Linked DNA regions of Homo sapiens: regions 1 and 2 are each linked to region 3. The links are contacts of gene promoters, found by promoter capture Hi-C in blood cells and fetal thymus (Javierre and others, 2016). All regions are on one chromosome and are shown on one strand. Each heading gives the region's core, a stretch centred on a gene start or on the middle of the fragment in contact. The rest is flanking DNA. Distances are from core to core; before and after follow the strand shown.

What was found. The method cuts DNA at HindIII sites, captures the fragments that hold promoters and counts their contacts. A CHiCAGO score of 5 or more calls a contact.
Region 1: a fragment that was not itself captured here is called in contact with the fragment with the promoter of WFDC3 in region 3 in 3 of 17 cell types (M2 macrophages, M1 macrophages and M0 macrophages); the score reaches 7.5 in M2 macrophages.
Region 2: a contact is called between the fragment with the promoter of WFDC8 here and the fragment with the promoter of WFDC3 in region 3, in 3 of 17 cell types (M2 macrophages, M0 macrophages and M1 macrophages). The highest score is 6.3, in M2 macrophages.

Annotation. Positions count from the first base shown.
Region 1 is chr20:45,596,469-45,599,195 of GRCh38, reverse strand. No RefSeq gene overlaps it. Among named protein-coding and RNA genes, the nearest start is that of WFDC8, 19 kb to the right of the region's middle. The HindIII fragment of the contact is 3,481 bases long and covers 1-2,727 here.
Region 2 is chr20:45,577,737-45,580,543 of GRCh38, reverse strand. It overlaps WFDC8 (WAP four-disulfide core domain 8), which reads left to right and starts at 1,260. Exons shown (of 6, transcript NM_130896.3): 1 at 1,260-1,322. The coding sequence starts at 1,297. RefSeq lists an enhancer at 1,510-2,445. The HindIII fragment of the contact is 6,723 bases long and covers 1-2,807 here.
Region 3 is chr20:45,790,423-45,793,262 of GRCh38, reverse strand. It overlaps WFDC3 (WAP four-disulfide core domain 3), which reads left to right and starts at 1,380. Exons shown (of 7, transcript NM_080614.2): 1 at 1,380-1,431. DNTTIP1 (deoxynucleotidyltransferase terminal interacting protein 1) reads right to left here and starts at 1,309. Exons shown (of 13, transcript NM_052951.3): 1 at 1,154-1,309; 2 at 516-586. The coding sequence starts at 1,258. RefSeq lists silencers at 607-746, 957-1,226. The HindIII fragment of the contact is 10,060 bases long and covers 1-2,840 here.

The DNA of each region.
Region 1 (2,727 bases), core at 188-2,687, 190 kb after region 3:
CTACTTGGGAGGCTGAGACAGGAGAATTGCTTGAGCCCAGGAGGTAGAGGTTACAGTGAGTCAAGATCGAGCCATTGCACTCCAGCCTGGGCGACAGAGCAAGACTCTGTATAAAAAAAAAAGAATTCGAGAACCAGTTGTATGTAGCTTTGATCACTTCCAAGGGAGAAAAAAAAATTACTTATTTCTTAATGCATTCACTTTGTGCTGAAGAAAAGGGAGAAGATGGTGAAGTCTGGATACTTATGAGCTATGACACTAGTAATAGTGGAAAGGTCAAGAGGTTGGAAAGAAGGTTAAAGAAGGACTCTAGAAGACGACTGGAGTGAGTGATTGACAGTAGAGAGAGAATAAGAGTCAGGGAGAGATAAGATATGGGTGAGAGTCTAGAGGAACTCTCAGGCTCTTTTGGGATCTCGAGTTCTATGAGTATGGATTTCACTGGATGACTTCATTAGAGTTTGGGATGATAAAAGTAGATTTCATTTTGGCCAAGGGGAAATAGGGAAGCTCTAGAGGCCAGCACATTGTGGATCCTGTGGGAGACTGCAGGAGCAGATCAGGCAAAGGGAGTGAGTTTAAGCAAACACAGGACTTGGAGAGTACAAAGAGGACGCTTTCTTAAGAAGCAGTTAAATCCATGGATTCTGGAGTCTAGAAGGGTTGTTAAGTTTGAAAAGGGTAGATTCTCAAGGTTCCTCAGCCTGTTGTACATACCTACCTGCCCTGACACAATCCCAACAGGTGGATTATTATTCAGGCACTTCCAAATGGATTCATATATGGATTTCTACATTGACCAGAGAGAGATGTGCCTGGACTGACAAGTAAATGGCCAAGGTTACCTGGCCTTGTGATCCATCAGTGGGAGATGGGAAAGGAAGAGAGGGAGACAGGGTTACCTCCTTGCTTCACCTGGACCCACTTCCATGGGAGAGAATATCCCAGCCTTGATATTCCAATCAAGCAGACCTAGGATTTCTGCTTCTACTACTCCATCTCCAGCACCCTTAGCTTCCCTCATTAAAGCCACGTACCTGACTCTTCTTTCTGTCCAAGAGCTTTGACTTCTTCACTGACTTCCCATCCCTGCCACTCATCACATAGCCACTTTTTCTCGACCAGGTCCCCAAAGACCTCTCCCTTCTACATGTACCCAATATCTGTAGGAAGCAACCACCCGTATATGGGCATATCCCCATAACTGATCCACAGGTGCCCTCAACTTGCTTCTCCATTTATCCTTACCCTCTTTTTTCCTTTCTTAAGACCATTCCTCTGTTTCCTCTAGTTGTCCTTAATTTCCTTCATGGAAGGATAGCCTTCAAAGTAGCAGTACTCAAAGGTACTATTACCTATTCCTCGGTTTAAGAAGTATTAGATTTGTCCTTTTTGCCTAGTTGATTTCATTTCCACTAGTGGTCATTTACTCTTTCAGGATCCACATAACCTGTAATAGGCTCATTTTAAAATTTAATAACTTCCATTAAGTAATCAACAGGAGGTTATAAAATTGCTACTGTGTGCCTGGGTTGATACCTCTCTATAGGAAAAGGGACTAGGTATTCATGCACAGATGGATAAGGTAGCTACATGCCTTTCAGCATTATAAGTTTTATAATATAGACAAGTAGAGTCCAGAGTAGAGCATGATAACAAAGCATAAGGGGACTCACAGTCAGTACCTATGAGTTAAGGGGAGAGGGTAGAGAGGAAGTTGATGGTGAGAGGTTCAGAGTAGGGTCCCTGGGGCATGCTAAATGTAAACATGGCCTTGAGAAACAGGAAAGGATTGGGGCTGGACACGGTGGCTCACATCTGTAATCCCAGCACTGTAGGAGGCTGAGGCGGGCAGACCACCTGAGGCCAGGAGTTCGAGACCAGCCTGACCAATATGGTGAAACCTCATCTTTACTAAAATACAAAAAGTAGCCAGGCGTGGTAGTGCATGCTTGTAATCCCAGCTACTTGGGAGGCTGAGGCAAGACAATCACTTGAACCTGGGAGGCGGAAGTTGCAGTGAGCGGAGATTGCGACACTGCACTCCAGCCTGGGTGGCAGCACGAGACTCCGTCTCAAAAAAAAAAAAAAAAAAAAAAAAAGAAGGAATTGGGACACTTTTGAGTGTATATATATTTTTATCCTGGAGAAAATAGACCCAGCCCAGGCTCTCTCTGGACCCTGACAGAGAGGGAAGAAGAGAAGGAATGAAATCCTGTTTTCCTACTTTGACATCATGTGCTCTGCCTGGTCCCCAGTTCTGACATCACACTGGACTGTGAACTTGGTGTTCAATTTGGAATTTCTGTACTTTCTTTTTTCCTTTTGCTCCCTCTTATAATGGATATAAAAGGTCTGGATTCTTTTCTGGAGTCTAGAATTTCCCCATAGGTTCTTGCTCTGTCTCAAGTCAGAGGATCTCTTCTATTTTCACATAGTGCCCTGAAGAGTCTTTTTAAGTCTAGGAGCCCTCCATCTGCAGTACTGTGGATTTTATCAGGAGCATTCCCCAGGGGGGGAAATATCTGTTTTGACTTCTGTGGGAACACAGGAGTTTTTTTGTAATGGATAGATGAAGGTGGGGTGGGGTGTATCCCATGGGTATAGCAGGGGTAAGCAATAGATTTATTAGTTACAACTAACAACTATTGTTCCAAGCAACAAATATTATTAATAGTTGTTCAAAGAAACACTAATCTAGGCTGGTGTGTTTCAACCCAAATAAGC
Region 2 (2,807 bases), core at 11-2,510, 210 kb after region 3:
CAATAGGAACTCTCAACTACCAATGGCAAGGCTGTGAATTGGTACAAACTCTTTGGGAAATAATTTGGTATCAGCTTGAGAAGCTGAAGATATGCATACCCTGTAACCCATCATTCCCTATGCTGAATGTATAACCTACAAGAACACCTGCCCACGTGCTCCAGCAAATGCACACAGAGTGTTCATAGCAGCTTTATTCTTTTTTTTACATGAGTAAATTGTTTAAAATTTTTTTGACATTTAAAAACATTTATTAATTCATTTAACGTAATAAACTTATTACATGTTGATATAAATAACATTTTTATTTAGAAAATCCTAGTTTTTTATTATACTTTAAGTTCTGGGATACACGTGCAGAACGTTATTACATACATGCTATGTATACACACAGCAGCTTTATTCTTAACAGCTGCAAACTATAAACAACTCAGTAGAGATGTGTGTAGTCATACAATAGATGGCATGGCAATGAAAATTGACAAAATACAGCTACACAAAACAATGTGGATGGAATTCATTAATATAATGTTGAACACAAAAAGCCAGGCACAAAAGAATACATTCCAAGTGACTCCATTGATATAGAACAGAAGCAGACAAAAACAAAAACATATTTAGGGGAATACATATGATCTTGAAAATATGAAAAAGAAAGTCACTACCATTAGCTGCCTTTGAGAGCATAGGAAGGGGTTGTGACTGGAAAAGAATGAAAAAGGAGCAGAAAGTGTTGGAAATTTTTTACTTGATTTCAGTGATAGTTTAATGAGTGGTCACTTCGTAATAGTTCGTTAGACTGAACATTAATGTTTCATGCATATTTTTATTTTTGTGGTGTTTTTCACAATACATATTTTTACAAAAAGGAAAAGTAGCTCTTCCTTGTTTTGTCTCCTTTTCTTTACTAACTGAACTAGTCAGTCCTAAAGCCATTAGATAGGCACATTTAGCAAGGTAGGCGTTTGCCCCAAGGGGAAGGGAGCCACGGCTGGCTCCGTGTGGGCATCAGAGCTGGAACAGGTCAAGGAGGGTGTCTCTGTAGGAGGGCTGCTGGCCTGGTGTGCTGGAGCCAGGGGTAGATGAGAATGCCCAGTGAAGAGGCAAGAAGCAGCATAGCATGGAGACCAGCCTGCCCATGTTGAGAAAGGCATCCCCCTGGGGCTAGAGGGGCAGACTGGCATAGAATGAGAGCCTGAGTGGGGTGAGCAGAGTGTCCAGGCAGGGGAGCAGATGAGGGAGGAGCCTTAGAGCTGGAGCAAAGTGAGGAAGCTGTCTCCATAGGGAAGAGGCCTGATGTGGACTGTCCGAACTGAAGGAGGGTGAGGAGGGTGTCTATGGGGGTGGGTAGCCAGACATGGAGGGTCTGAGCCCAAGGAGATGAGGAGGATACATAGAAGTTAGAGTGGTCGGCTGTGGGGAGTTGGGCCAAGCATAGTGAGGAGGGGTTCCACAGAACAGAGCTGTCTTGTGTCAGGAATCAGAGCCTAAGCAGGGTGAAGAGGGCATCAATGCATCCAGCGATTCTCCTGCCTTAGCCTCCCTAGTAGCTGGGACTACAGGTGTGCGCCACCACGCTCGGCTAAGTTTTGCATTTTTAGTAGAGACGGGGTTTCACCATGTTGGCCAGGCTGGTCTCGAATGCAACCTGATATGGCTGTTGGAGCCCAAGTAGGGTAAGTTGGGCATCTTTGAGTGGCCCAGTGTGGAGGGGCAGAGCCTGAGCAAGGTAAAGTTTGATATTTTAAATTAAACAAGCATATAATATGTATCTAAACATTTTCAAAAAATTAAAACAGGAGTAGTAGTGATGGGTTATATTATTATTCACAACTATTCATTCCATCTTTCCTTTAAGAGGACACTCCTGTCCATTACCTTGCAATTTTAGAACGGCCCGTGGAAGGAAGACACATTTCTGTCTCATTGACTTTGGGTTTGCTGTCAGCTGTGCTTTGCCTATTGGAGTATGAGCAGATGTAGCATATGCATAGTGAGTTTTGCACTGTGAGTTTCTGCCAGCTCCTTTGTGCTTTCTCTCTGCCAGGAGAAGGGGCCTAATCCACATAGAGGCTGCTTCTTTTGTCTTGGTCCCACAGCCTCAAGTAGAGCCCCCACTTGGAACAAAGCAGTAGACAATTTGCCTAGGAAGTCTTTTGTTGTGGCAAGCCATGGAGAGCTCAAAGTTCTTTGTACACCAAAGTAATAAAAATACAGTTGATTCCCATTACTTGGGGGTAGTTATGTTCTGTAAAGTCACTGTGAACACCGGATTAGCAAATACTGAGCCATTGCTCCTAGGGAAAATGCAAGCCTCTGACCACACATTTTCATCATTTGATCAATACATAACCTTGTTTTTATATGTGCTTCTGTCTGAAGACACATGACAGAGATGGTAATTAGAAGGTGCACACAGAAGACTTCTGGGAAGCTGGCTACTTTCTATTTTTTAATCTGTGTGGTTAATTATTAAATAAAACTCTACATACTTTATTTATTTATTTATTTTTATTTTTATTTTTTTTGTTTTGTTTGAGAGGGAATCTCTCTCTGTCCCCCAGGCTGGAGCATAGTGGTGTGATCTCGGCTCTCTGCAACCTCCACCTTCTGGGTTCAAGGGATCCTCCTGCCTTAGCCTCCTGAGTAGCTGGGACTACAGGTGTGCACCACCACTCCAGGCTAATTTTTGTATTTTTAGTAGAGACAGGGTTTCACCGTGTTGGCCAGGCTAGTCTTGAACTCCTGACCACAGGTGATCTGCCTGCCTCAGCCTCCCAAAGTGCTGGGATTACAGGCATGAGCCA
Region 3 (2,840 bases), core at 131-2,630:
TATAATACTTATACAGAAAAGTCTATACACTTTAATGAGTAATTATAGTGAACATCCATTTCACCACTATCAGCATCCCAAAGGCCCACCTTGTGCTCTCTCCCTTCCCTGACATGCATACTATTAATCCCTCTTTATAGTTGAGAAAACGGGCTCATCAGAGTCTGTTGATGAGAACACAGTTGTCTGACTCCAGAGCCTGTTCTCTTAAACTCCATGCTAACTGACCTCTTTAGAGCCCTCAACCACAGAGCCAGTGAATGTGAGGGATCTTAGGTATTGTTTATTCCACAACCCATCTCCTGTGCCCTTCCCCATTTTGTACGTGAGTTCAGAGAAGGAAGTGACTTGACTAGTTCAAGATCACACAGAGTTACAGAATCGGAGTCTCCTCTTCCTCAGTCCTGTGCTCTTTCTACCGGCTGTAGATCTCCATAGCCTTGTGCACTGGGGATCCCAAATCTGCCATGCAAGCCAGTGGCTGGGATATAAGCCCCATGCAGGGCCAGCCTTACCTTGTTGTCATCTGTGAGCGGCGGCCCCTCCGCTGCACCTGCCGGTGCTTTATCATTATGTTCCAAGGGTTCTGTGGGGACCAACGGAACAAATGTCACTGCGGCCTGTGACACTGGGGTGGGGTGGAGGTGGAGGGTGGGTATGAAGTTAAACCTGGACATCCCTGCTTCTCAGATCCGTCACCATCTCTCCCGCCTTGGGGTGGGACGATAGTTGTAAGGCCTCCTCCACAAAAGAGGAACTGAGGAAGTTTCCTGCCTTAAAAGTCCCGACCCTGCCTTCTGGCACGGCAGGAGGAAGGGAAGCAGTATTTACCGAGGGTCAACTCTGTGTCAGGTGATGTCCGGGGCGTTGTACCCGCCTTTATCTTCCCATCCCACAACAAGTTTTATGAGACAGGTACTAATCATTTCCATTTTATAGAAGAGGATCCTGGGACTCAGGGGGTTGACAGAGATGGCCCACGTCACCTAGCTAGGAGGGCGGCACCAGAATTTAAATCCAGGTCGTCGGGCTGCGAAAACGCCAACCCCCTCTGCAGCTCCAGCCTCCGCGTTCTCTCGCCCGCGGGCCAGGGTCCCAGGAGCCCCGAGGCCGTGCCCGGCCTGAGCCCAGACCTCACCGGGGGCGCCCTCACCGTAAGAACCAGCTGCCCCGCTGCGCCCGCATCCCCCAGCTCCAAGCCGCCCCTCTCGGCCCCGCTAGGTCCCCGCGGCTGCTCGGCGTCGCCAGTGGCTCCCATGGCGCCCCCGGCCCCCACAACTCCGCTGGACTCTGTCACCGGCCGGAAAGTGGCGCCGTGACGTCACTGGAGCGCGCTGCTCGTCCGCCCGGAAGCGCGACGCTGGAGCTGCGGGGTTACCATGGGAACCGAACCGCCGCGCCTCGCCCAGGACAGTTACACTTAGAGGCCTTGTAGGTGGAGGTCGTTGGGGCTTCCTCTCGGGAGGGCTGCGCCTCGATTGTGCAGTGTGGGTGTTCAGTGGCGGTTCAGTCAAGGGATGTTTCCCGCTGGGCCAAGGCCTGGGGATGACTGCGGGGTAGGAGGAAGGGACCAGTTTTCTGTAGGCTGGGGTTGGGGAGCAGAGGGAAGCGTTTGGTACAGCGGCGCCTGCAGTTCAGTTTTTGAAAACTAGATTTTAATATGCTCGGCCAGGGGCGGTGGCTCACGCCTGTAATCCCAGCACTTTGGGAGGCCGAGGCGGGAGGATCACTTGCCATCAGGAGTTCGAGACCAGCCTGGCCAACATGGCGAAACCCCGTCTCTACTAAAAATATAAAAATTAGCCGGGCGTGGTGGTGGGCACCTGTAATCCCAGCTACTCGGGAGGCTGAGGCAGGAGAGTCTCTTGAACCCAGGAGGCGGAGGTTGCAGTGAGCCGAGATCACGCCACTGCACTCCAGCCTGGGCGACAGAGGGAGACTGTCTCAAAAAAAAAAAAAAAAAAAGCACATTAGGCACATGTTAGGTCATCATCAAATGTTAATTATGCCGAGATCGCGCCACTGCATTCCAGCCTGGGGGACAGAGGGAGACTCTGTCTCAAAAAAAAAAAAAAAAAAAAAAAAAAAAGCATATTAGGCACATATGAGGTCATCATCAAATGTTAATTATCTCCATGAGCCAACATCAGCCTTCTAACCATAAGGGCGACTTCCTGGCTCCAAACTTTTTGATCCTATTAAGGAGGTTTTACCTTGTACCTGCCCATAGGACTAAGCAGTGCCAGTGGACACCATTAGGTATCACAGCTAACCAAAGGCATGACCAGGACAGATAAAGAAAAAAAGAAATGGAGAAAAAAGAAATAAAGGAGGTATATGTGGGCAGACTATTTGAGTCATACATAGCAACTTCTCTTGGGTTCTGCCAGCTAGACTTCATACAGTCCAAGAATGGCCTGTGTGGGTTAGAGGGACAAAGATGTAGGTGTTTGGTGCTTTTCATTAGTTCTTAACAAACTCAACTACTGCTTTTCTGTAGGTTTTTGATAGTTTCTTTTCTCTCTTTTTTTTTTTTTTGAGACAGAGTCTCACTCTGTTACCCAAGCTGGAGTGCAGTGGCATGATCTCCACTCACTGCAACCTCTGCCTCCTGGGTTCAAGCTATTCTCCTGCCTCAGCCTCCCACGTAGCTGGGATTACAGGCATGCACCAGCATGCCCAGCTGATTTTTGTATTTTTAGTAGAGACAGGGTTTCGCCATGTTGGCCAGGCTGGTCTCAAACTCCTGACCTCAGGTGATCTGCCCGCCTTGGCCTATTTGATAGTTTCTGAGTGGTCTGTTCCATTCTGTATTTTCTTGGTTGCTAGGATGAACAGGA